2 separate regions of the Homo sapiens genome follow, and region 1 is linked to region 2. Evidence: promoter capture Hi-C in 16 types of primary human blood cells and fetal thymus (Javierre and others, 2016). All regions are on one chromosome and are shown on one strand. The core of a region is centred on a gene start or on the middle of the fragment in contact, and the rest is flanking DNA. Distances in the headings are between cores, read along the strand shown. Region 1 has its middle 71 kb from the start of IGLL5. Region 2 holds the start of PPM1F (protein phosphatase, Mg2+/Mn2+ dependent 1F).

Region 1 (5,710 bases), core at 2,655-5,154, 1.0 Mb after region 2:
CTTGTTTTCTCTAACACAGCGCTTCACACACAGAGTTCTTTTCCAGTTATGTGACTAATTCAATAAACTGCCTGAGCCTTAGTTTCCCAATCCTTGTCATTAAATGGTCACTGTGCCCACTGGTGTGCTGGGAAAAGTTTAACAACTAACAGAGTAGCAAGGGCGGTGGGAGTCCTAATTTGTAGCATTTGCCCATTTCCATGGTATAAATAATCCCACCATGGCTGATTTCAAGCTACCAAGGTGCCCCACTGAACACAGAGTTGGGAAGAGATGCTCTTAAATCATCAGCTCTCCTGAGCTGGTGCAAGCCAGTTGCGGGACACCACTGGGCTTTTTGCAACCCTGTTTCTTAATTCTCAGTTCTGGGCAGGCTGTAGTCGCCTCCCCGTGCTTCTGTACAAGTAGACAGCGACATCTGGTGGCAAAGTCAAGCAAATCCCAGACCATGTAGAGAAGGGCCTAGAGTATGGGAAAACAAGAAACACCCCTCTTCTCCCACCAGCACCCCCACGAAAGGTTCCTGTCCTCTTCCTCAACCAACCCTGGGACCCATCAACTCCAGCAAAAACTCAATGCCTGGGGAGTTCCTACATGGGCAGCCTGCAGGTCTCCCTTCCTGTGGCAGCTGGGGTAGAGTGGCATGGCTCCTGGTGTTGGAATAAGCAGTGACCTCGTACAGCAGTCATTCCCACTGCCTGCCTGCAGACCCCTTGCCTTACCCCTGGTTGAGAATTATCAGAAGCGTCCCTCAACCCAAAGCAGTCACCACAGCACTCCTAGAACAAGAGTTACTCAGCTAGTGTGACCAGAGCACTGGTTCACCATGAGCGCTTCCTCCTGGAATTTGGACAACCATCTCAGGGCCTTTCTTTGGTCAATTTCCTTCTGATTCTGTGTGTAAGACTTGTGTGCAGAATCTCAGTGGCCTAAATATCTCAGCCTATGGTAGGATAGGCGGGGAAGTGAGGGTGGCCCCTGCAATAGCAAAGCCATTACACTTAGCCTTTGGCCACTAAAACCCCCTATGGCAGCAACAGGCTGCTGACCACCGAACGTTCACCTCCTTTTCCATAGTGTATTCCTTTTCTTGAGACAGGGTCTCCCTGTATCACCCAGGCTAGAGAGCAGCAGTGCATCCATAGCTCCCTGCAATCTCAGACTCCTGGGCTCAAGTGATCCTCCTGCCTCAGCCTCCTGAGTAGCCGGGACTACATGCACACACCACCACACTTAGCTAATTTTTGTATTTTTTGTAGAGATGGGGAATCTCATTATTTGCCTAAGCTGGTCTCGAACTCCTGGCCTCAAGGAATCCTCCCACCTTGGCCTCCCAAAGTGCTGGGATTACAGGCATGAGCCACCACATCCAGCTTCCATAGTGAACTGTTAAAGAAGGCATCTGTTTAGCCCAGGACTCTACTTTCCATATCCCTAAAAGGGCAATGTGTGAAAAGATTATCTGTGCAAATATAAAGTCCCTGGCTGCTGCTTCTACAGACAAGCTCCTACTGCATCCTCAGGCAATCACCTTTCCACCCTGGGGCTGATCCTCCAGACCTGCACCAGCCCACCCACATACCCCTGGGCAATGATAGGCCCTTCCATGGACCAGCTTCTGCTCACACTCTCTGGCAAGCGTCTTGGCCTCTGGCAGGCTACAGCTCACAGCAAAACCATGCTCTCCTGGAAAAGTCTGAATCTCAGCCTTGCCTGGGGTCCCATTCTCAAGCTCTTAGTTCCTTCACTCACTCCGCGTGAGTCGGTAGCTGCTTTCTGAATCTGCTACTCATGAACGTTGTACAGTCCTGCTTTATCCTTTTCATGAGCTCACCACTCTTTATAGTTTAACAACTCTGAAAAAATCCCTGTTCAAATTACTGGTGTGGTTTGCCTCCTGAGTCTACCCTGGTTGACACAATATCTCAGCATCAAAAGATGGCATGGAAATGAAGGTCATCTCCGAACTGCTACTATGATAGACCTTCAATCAAATGAAGTCAAATGAAGCCTTCAGGCATTCATCTTGCAGAATGCAAACAGTCAGCTGCCACAGGGAACTGCAGAAGGCAAGCGTTGTGACCAAACCATAAATGCTGGTCAGCCCCATCTAAATCAGGTTAAAATGGGGATAGATATCAGCCAGTGAGAACACAGGCAGCTTTCTTTGGAATGGCCACTTCGGGGGTGGTGGGTGAGCAAAGAATGGATGCAGATGCTCTCTCCTCTCCAAGGAGCAATGTGGACTTCAAAGCCCACAAAGATTCGTGAGATTTATTCCTAGAATAAGTACCCTAGAGAAGCCCGCCCAGCAGAGTATAAAAGAAATCAAGAATTTCCGGTGGACCCAGAACGTGTCACAGCTTGGGGCCAAATAAATTACACTCCTGCAAATGCCTCGGGCCTAGCTCCAGTAAAAAGTGACAGGACAGCCATGTGTCCAAAAGCTAGTGCATTGCACAGCAAGGAGGAAACCAATTTCCTTTAGCCTTTGCTCCCCTAGAGACGTCATATGACCAGAGTGAGGTTGGACACTCAGCTCTCTATCTTTTCAAATAATTCCCCATCTCCAAGTTCATGGAAAGAGAGAAAACCATCATGTCACCATAGCGATGACTCCTCTAATGATGGTTCAGAGTGGAAAACTTCTGACTTCAAGGATGGCCTCATACAGGATGGACGTGAATGCTGGTCCTCAAAACCCCAATGTCACATTTTTAAAAATCTGACCATCCCTCAGTCAGTGTCAGGGGTTTTCATGTGGGAAACCTCAAAGAAGGTGAGAAGGCAGGGGAGGTGTAACCCACAGTAATTATTAATAAAACCAACATTCCAGGACAAACTACTGCTAAGGAGGTTGAATTTTTTTTCTAAATGATCCTTCACAAGTAAAATAAGGAACTGGAGTCCTTGGACTGATCGCTATATTATGCTAAATGGATGACAGAATACAGCTCAGGAGTCAAAGATCATAAGCTTCCAAGTGGCCACAGGGACAATAAGCCTTTCAGCCCTTGGGTAATAAAGTCAGACAATCTGGTCCAGCAGCCAGAAGATGGCTGAGCTGGAGGAACATCGATGATGGGACAGTCCCAGCGTCCGCCCTCTCTGCTGGAAGGACATTAGCTGCTGAGAATAACTGGATCCAAATTGTTAACGTGACCCCCCACTGCTCATGGGGATGAAGAAAAAGATCTGGGGTGATTGGAACCTTACAAAGCAGGGACACAGATGCTTTATGTCTTTCGAAGGTCTAGTTGTAAAAACAAGACCCGAAAGCAGCCTCTCGGTCTTTTCACTGCTGGCCAGCAAAACTGGGAGAGGACTATGTTGTGATGTCCCCAGGATATCCTTCATGATTGCCACCAAGATCTGCTGGGATAGGTGCCCAAGACCTGGAAGGAACACTAAACTAGAGACCCAGGGATGCACACACCTTGCATGTTCTCACAATGAGGCTAAACCAGACTCATCACCGAAGAAATGCCAGCCAACAGCCTGTGGACATGGATGCAGATTGACTATTCCAGCCCCTCAGTGAACAAGCTCCAAGTGTGTTTCCTTGTAAAGCAGTTATACAGGTCAAAAATCACTTCATCACAAATGAAATACGGTCAAACTACCACAAAACACAGGGCTAAAATATCTCATCACCGGAGGGTGCCAGAGACCACCAAATATAATCCAGATTCAAGGCAGTCCATGTGAAAATTGCCCACCAGGTGGCGGAAATGCAGGGAGACGGCCAGCATGTACAGATAATTTGTTTCCCGGGTCCACACATTATCTGATGAGAGTGAATCTGACCCTAGAAGAGAACTACACAACTACTTGGTTGCATTAGGGTTCAACAAGACTGTGCACGCTCCAAAAATTCTCAAAAAGGTCAAATCCAAGTAACAAGGGTTTTAGCCTATGAACCAAGGTGTGGCTAGAGAAAAGATTGTTTGAATTTGAAAAGAAGCTAGGAGGTTGACTCACTGGGGCATCTATCCTTGAGTCTTCCTGCAGTGGGAGGCAGAGTGAGCGGTCAGCTGGGCATCCACATCTAGAGTGTTGAAAACCTCCTGGGGGTGGAGACGGGGGACTTCCACTTCCAGAATGGGCAATTGTGTGTGTGTATAAAATATTTAAGATATATGTATTTATTTAAAGTCTCTAGAAATGGCCTTAGGGCATACAGCAAATAAAAAAACATTTAATTCAAGAACATCTATTAAAACCTGGCAAGAAATGGGAGGGTCTGTGGCATTTCAACCACGACCTGCTCCATTCCTCCCACTGCCAGCAAAATGTGACAGAAACTCCACTCCAGGTGGGTACAGCCAAGGACACAGCACTGTCTCCACCCAGCTCCCAGTCAAGGGCTATGGTATTTTCCCAAGAAGGAAAATCCATCAGCATTTTTCTTCCCACCCCAGCTACCTGTTGCAGAGACTAAATTCCAGGTGATTGTAGTAATCGGTTGAGGCTCTCTTCTTTTGCTCAGCCCCTACTTGTGGGACAAAAGCCCTGCCTTGGGTGCAACACACTGAGAATACTGGCACCATCAACCAGCTCATTTGTAAAGTAGAGGTTCCATGCTATGAGAAGCAAGCTGGGAATACAATAGACTCTCCAATAAGCACCCACCTCCTAAAGCAGGGGTGTCACTCAGAAAGTAGCTACCTACCACTGTCCCCACCCAGCCCCAGAGCCATAGCCAAAAGCTCCTGAAACATTTCCCCAAGAGGAAAGGCAGGACATAGAGAGCTCTAAAGCCCTTCCCGAATGAACTGACTTTATTTGCAAATGAGTACAAAGTTCAACATTAAGGGGACTTTCAAAACAATGAAGCTTGGGCAAAAAGCAATTGAGAGGAAACTGGTAAGTTCATTAGTGACATAAACTAGACCATAGGCCAGCTAGTTTATCAGAGAGAACCAGGAAAAGACATGGCTAAAAACAGACCTCTTGGGGTCAAAGCAAACCTCAAACACTGACCTCAAAAACTATCCCTGCAAATGAGCCTCAGTTTAATTGGATAAGTCATCTCAATAAAGGTGTTTTTTAAAGAAAAAAAACAGCAATAACAATTATACATTCTGGTCAACATGGAGTAACAGGAGCTGGATTTATTTTTAGGCCTGGAATAATTTTAAAAACAACACAAAATATTTAAGTCACTGGACATCAGGCAATGAAAGATAGTGGTTTATAAGAGATGAGAAATGAATAAGATGAGCCCCACGATTGCCCCAGATTACTGCATGGAGAGTTTCCAGTCTGAGGCTCAAGGAGGAGAGAACGTAACCACAGCCCACTGGCCTCCCCGAGTTGAAGAAACAGAGCTGCTTGGGATCCCAGGCCGCTGGAGTTCATAGGGCAGAGTACCAAAGAGGAGGGAGCTTAACAGAAAGAGAACTCTGCAAATACGAGAGTGTAAGTATTATACTGAGTAGTGATCAGTGTATGCATATGAGGAATGTACCTGAGGCCAAGAAAAAGACTACCCAAAAGCATTGAACAGAACAATCCCCAGAGAAAATTCAGGGCTGAAAATAATGCCTGACCTCATCAACAAGTACAGAAAATCTCATAATTCATTAAGCATCAGGTAGAGTACTCAGAGGAGTCTTCCTGATCTGTGGACAAAATTAACCATAGACTTAATGCTGTTGTGGTCTCATGTAAAAATGTTAAAAGAAAGCTGGGGATAGATTAAACTGTT
Region 2 (5,870 bases), core at 1,813-4,312:
CTGGCAGCTGGTTCCTCCTGGATCAGGGCCCCACTGCACACCAAATGGGTGCTCACCCTCCTAGAACCTATTTAAGGTCCCACATAGGTGAGAAATGGCAAAGCAAACTCATCGGGGGGCAGCTGCAGGGGTGTGGCTGACGGTGCTGCCAGCTGCCATCCGCCCCTGCTCTGAGCACTCTTCCTGGGATGGCTTTTAGCCTCCCAACAACCTCTTGTGGTTATCCCCACTTCACAGGGCAGGCTGTAGCAGAAGAGCTAAGGAACTTGCCCAAAGTCCCAGGGTGGGGTTCATGCTGGGGAACCTGGGCCTTAACTGTGATGACACCTGGGAAGTCATTCTGACTCCTTCTATCCCTGACCTGTCCCTCATTGGCCACCAGCTCTGGGCTTTGGCTCTCTCATGGCTCCTCCTTCCATTTCTGTGTACCCCCCACCCTAGGGCAGCCCCTCCCCTCCTTGTTTTGTGGTGCCCTCCTTCCATTTTGCCTCCCGAGATCTCTCAGATCCTTTGAGGCTTTGCTGAAATCTCCCCATCTTTGGATCCAGCATGCTCTCTTTCATGTCTCTATGGCACTTTTGCTCACATCTGACTTGTAAAAAGTTTTTTTTTTTTTAATTTAAAATATTTATTTTCCTCTAGTGCATTAGTTTTGACTCCTAAGCTTAACGAATGCAGGGTTTAACAACTGCAGTTTTTTAGGGGACATAGAAAAAATACTTGTTGAGTCTTGCTTAACTGCAGAACCAAGGTAATGAAAAAAACCCAGCAATCCTTAGAAAAGGGAACTGCACCACTATAGTGTAACAAAAGCATCATTCATGTTAACTGTTTTTTTTTGTTTTTGTTTTTTTTGAGACAGAGTCTTGCTCTGTCACCCAGGCCGGAGTGCAGTGGCGCAATCTTGGCTCACGGCAACCTCCGCCTCTCAGGTTCAAGTGATTCTCCTGCCTAAGCCTCCCTAGTAGCTGGGATTACAGGCACCCACAACCACGCCTGGCTAATTTTTTTGTATTTTTAGTAGAGATGGGGTTTCACCATGTTGGCCAGGCTGGTCTCGAACTCCTGACCTCAGGTGATCTGCCCGCCTCAGCCTCCCAAAGTGCTGTGATTACAGGTATGAGACACCACGCCTGGCCAACCTTTTTCTACCAAAAGAGATTCTTATTTCTTTATTCATAACTACTAATACTAATAATAGTTAGATGTAAATCCTAGATTTTTTTTCTACATATATAAATTTTTTTTATTGTTGTAAAATATACACACTATGTATCCTTTTAACCATTTCTAAGCGTACAGTTCCATGGCATTAAGCATAGTCACATTGCTGTGCAATGACCATTTCTTTCTACAGGCCTGACTTTCTTGATAGACTGTAAGCTCCCTGTAGTCAGGGAGCCCACGATGGCCCTTTGTGTACAGCAGGTGGTAAGTGTGATGGCAGAGGGAAGAGTGACTGGCGGGTGGCATGGGCTGAGGAAGCTACACCACTCTGAAGGGTGCAGTGGGCAGCAGCGCCAGGTCTTAAAAGACTCGGTTGGCTTCAGGTCAGATGGTATCCTTTTTTTTTTTTTTTTTTTTTTTGAGAGGGAGTTTCGCTCTTGTTGCCCAGGCTGGAGTGCAATGGTGGGATCTCAGCTCACTGCAACCTTCGCCTCCCAGGTTCAAGCAATTCTCCTGCCTCAGCCTCCTGAGTAGCTAGGATTACAGGCACCTGCCACCACGCGCGGCTAATTTTTGTATTTTTAGTAGAGATGGGATTTTGCCATGCTGGTCTGGAACTCTTGACCTCAGGTGATATGCCTGCCTCGGCCTCCCAAAGTGCTGGGATTACAGGTATGAGCCACCGCGCCCGGCCTTCAGGGGGTATCTTAAAGGAATTCCACAAATGAACTTGTGTAGAGGTTCATGGCTTTCAGAAATGCATTCGTTTTGTTTACCTCTCACAACTACGCTGAGAAGTACATACTGTCAGGCTACACTGCAGATGAAGAAATAGGTTATAGGAGGGCAAGCACCCATTTAAGGTCTCACACAGGTGAAAGGGCAAAGCGAACTCAATCAAGGTCTCTGGATGCCCAATGCCTTTGGTATTTCCACCTCGCGTGCAGGAGGAAAAGAGCGAAATTTGACAACAGAAGAGACTGGAGATGGCCTCAGAGTGCTGGCCGGCCCCACTTTCTATCCCCCGTGGTGAGAGCTCAGCTGGGCCCAGAGAACTTGTCCCGGGGAATGCCACCACGACATGTGTGACTCTGTCCCGCAGGGTGGAAGGCTTCGAAGGAGCCCGCCACCATGCAGTGGGCCTCACTGTGTGTCAAGCGCTGTGCCGAAATCCCTGCAGCCGGAGCCAGTTCTTCCTGTTGTACAGACAGGTTCAGGGGCTTGCCTGACCGAACCCAGCGGCAATGTGCCCGGCCTCCGCGCCTGAGGCTCTGGCTCACAGACCTGTGGCTGAAGCAGCTGCAGCCCGAGCACTTGTGCAGCTGACGCTCGCTTCACGGACGCTTGGGAGGCCGCGGAGCCGGGGGCCATCAGGCAGACTGGGCCCCTGAAGGTGCAGGGACTGGGGGGATATGGGGCAACGTGCCGGCCCAGAGGCTCCTGGGGGGTGGGGAGAGGCCAAATCTCGGAAAATGGGGCGCGTCCCCCTCAGCACCCGATTCTGCCTCATAGCCCTCGGTCCCTACCAGGCCCTCGGCTCGGCCACACCCCCGCCTGCCCCCCAGTTCTGCCCCCTTGGCTCCCCAGCCCCCCAACTCCCAGCCTCGGGTTCCTCATGTCCGCAGCGGCCCCTCTTGCTCCTCGGCCCCCCGCACTGCACCCCCGCACCCTTTCGGTGCACCCATGTGAGCCTCGTCTCGGCCTCCTTGCCTCCCCAGCCCTCTGATTCCACCCCTCCGGTTCCTCGGTCCCATTTCACCCCTGTGCGCCTTGGGCGCTCGCCTGACCCTCGTCCCAGCCCCGTCAGCCCTCTAATCCCGTCCCCCCCGGCCTCCTCACCCCTGGTCTCCGCGGGCCTCAGCTGTCTCCTCGCGGCTCCGTGTCCCGCAAGCTGCTGCCGGCCGGCCCCGCCCACTTCCCGTCCCTGGCCGCCGCGGGCGCCGCGGGCGCCGCGCAGGCGCAGTCGGGCCTCCAGGCTGGCGGGGCCGGACCTCTGCTGCCCCCTGGCGGCTACGTGGACGGTGACTGCGGCCCTTTAGTGGTAGGCGAACTGCGGCTCCACCTGGGCTCCGGAGCCGCCCCAGTCACCAGCCTCTTGCTTCTCTTCTGCAGCTTTGGGTGGGCGGCTGGATGGGGAAAGCAATCCCTAGGTCACAGCGCCCAGAAATTAAGCAACTTCTGCCGTCAATAGCTGGTAAGTGACAGAGCAGGGATGCAAACCCAGACTGCCCAGGCAGGCTCATCCGTCCGGGAAGGAGGCACAGTCCCAGGCTCATTATGAGTTGTTTGTTTCCACAAACGTTGAGGCTTTTGTTATCTTTCCGTTCTGGAGGTCAGAAGTCCACTTAGCCTCAGTGGGCGAAGATCCAGGGATCGCCAGAATGCGTTCCTTTCTGAGGATTCTAGGGGAGAAACTGTTCCCCTGCCTTTTCCAGCTCCTAAGGGCTCCCTGCATACCTTGGCTCGTGGCCCCTTCCTACAGCCTCGAAGCCAGCAATGGCCAGTTGAGCCTTTCTCACACTGCCACCTCTGGTTCCCTCCTCTGCTTCCTTCTGCTACTTCTAAAGACCCTCCTGATGCCATTGGGCCCACCCAGATAGTCCAGCATCATCTCTCTAAATCAGTTGATTAGCAACCTTAATTCCCCTTTGCCCCTTATTATTATTATTATTTTTTTTTGACACGGAGTCTCACCCTGTCACCCAGGCTGTACTGCAGTGGCATGACCTCGACTCACTGCAACCTCTGCCTCCCTGGTTCAAGCGATTTTCCTGCCTCAGCCTCCCGAGTAGCTGGGACTGCAGGCACGCACCACCATGCCCGGCTAATTTTTTTTGTATTTTTAGTAGAGATGGGGTTTCACCATGTTGGTCAGGCTGGTCTCAAACTCCTGACCTCAAATGATCTGCCTGCCTCGGCCTCCCAAAGTGCTGGGATTACAGTACAGGCGTGAGCCACTATGCCGGGTCTGCCATGTAATCTAACACAGGCACAGGTATAGGACATGAACATCTCTGAAGGGCCATTTTTCTGCCAACACAGAGGCTCTTGAAAATATTCTTTTTCTCTCTTTTTAGAGACAAGCTCCTTCTCTGGTGCCCACACTGGAGTGCAGTGGCATGATCACAGCTCACTGCAGCCTCAAACTCCTGGGCTCAAGTGACCCTCCCCTCCTGCCTCAGCCTTCCTAGTGTCTGGGAACACAGGCAAGCACCACCACGCCCAGCTGATTAAAAAAAATTTGTAGAGACAGGGTCTCTATGTTGCCCAGGCTGGTCTTGAACTCTTGGGCTCAAGTGATCCTCCTGCCTCAGCCTTCCCAAGTGCTGGGATTATAGGTGTGAACCATTACACCTGGCCAAAATATTTTATTTTAAAGGCAGAAGAAAGAAACCTTTATGTCAAAGAAAATGTTTTAATATATGATATTAATATATTCACCTTTATACCAATGCCGTTGGAAAGTATAATTTTTTAAATGGAGGATGGGGCACCAGATCTTATGTGGCTCTGCCCACCTGACCTTCAGGTCCGCAGGCCTGTGTCCTTGCCAGGAATGAATGTCTCTGGGATGCTTCTCTAACAGGAGGAACCTGGAGTGAGACCAGGAACCTGGAGAACTAGCAGCTGGGTGACTGGAAAGGAAACCATCTGGGGTGGGGTTGGGTCTGCAAGGCAGGAGGTGTCTGGGCAGAGAAAGCAGGGCTGGGGCGGAGGGTCCTGCCTCATCCCATTCTCCTGCTCACTCTTTCCTAGATCCCTGTCAGGGCAGTAACCATGAGCAAGGCTTGAGGCTACTTCTTATAAACAGTGGCCCTGGGCACATTCCTTAGCTCACCTGAGCCTCAGTTTCTTGATGAGAAAAAATCGGGACAATAGCAACCAACCTATCTCAGAGGGCTGCTGTGAGACCCTGAGCCACTGTTTCTCAAACTGCCCCTGAGATCACCTACAACAGAATGGCTGTAGGGTGAAGTTTGAGAACCGCAGTACAGGTGAGGTGGTGCGTGGGGCAGGCCCTCCCACACTGTAAAGTGCAGTGTGGTGCGGTAAAAGCTGATATTCCCGCAGGCATCCTCAGAGTGGGCCCAATTAGACTCTTGAGCACTGATTCCATTCAAGGTCTGCGGCTTAGAGAGGATGGCAAAGTGAGGCACCACCAGGAGCTTGTCCCTATGGGCTCCAGGCCAAGGACGTGCCTGGAGATGACTCCTGCCTTGTGGCGCTGTCACTGCCTCACTGTCCACATTCCATCACGCCTCAGATCCTGGCTTCCACCCTGGTGAAAGGAATCTTTCAATATCACCCACCCAGCCACAGACGCTTCTCTGCTTCTCTGGCAAGGCTGCACCCCTGGCTAGGTGGGCAGGGCCAGGGGCTCCTTGAGACAGTCTGCAGCCACTGACCTCTCCAGCCTCCAGGGCAGAGGTACAGTCCCATGGAGCGTGGCTGATCTGAAGGCAGTTCTGGCCTAAAAGGGGTCTTGTCCCTTCCTTGTCCTCATTGCTCCCAAGGCCAGGTTGGCAGCAGTAGCAGCGGGGTTGGATGCTATTGGATGGGAGAAGGTGAATGGACTCGGAGTGCAGAATCAAGCTGCGGAAGCCAAGGGCCTTGAAGGAGGGTCACACACAAGGGACAACTGCAGAGGAAAATAAAGGAACACTTTGTGATTAGCCCTGCCTGTGGCTGAAAGCGCAGTGCAG

Evidence for each region. Contacts are between HindIII fragments. The CHiCAGO score rates a contact against its expected background, and 5 or more counts as called.
Region 1: a fragment that was not itself captured here is called in contact with the fragment with the promoter of PPM1F in region 2 in 1 of 17 cell types (total B cells); the score reaches 6.6 in total B cells.

Annotation. Positions count from the first base shown.
Region 1 is chr22:22,955,684-22,961,393 of GRCh38, forward strand. No RefSeq gene overlaps it. Among named protein-coding and RNA genes, the nearest start is that of IGLL5, 71 kb to the left of the region's middle. The HindIII fragment of the contact is 1,860 bases long and covers 2,975-4,834 here.
Region 2 is chr22:21,949,786-21,955,655 of GRCh38, forward strand. It overlaps PPM1F (protein phosphatase, Mg2+/Mn2+ dependent 1F), which reads right to left and starts at 3,063. Exons shown (of 8, transcript NM_014634.4): 1 at 3,007-3,063. RefSeq lists enhancers at 2,216-2,285, 2,332-2,852 and a silencer at 2,846-3,255. The HindIII fragment of the contact is 22,373 bases long and covers 663-5,870 here.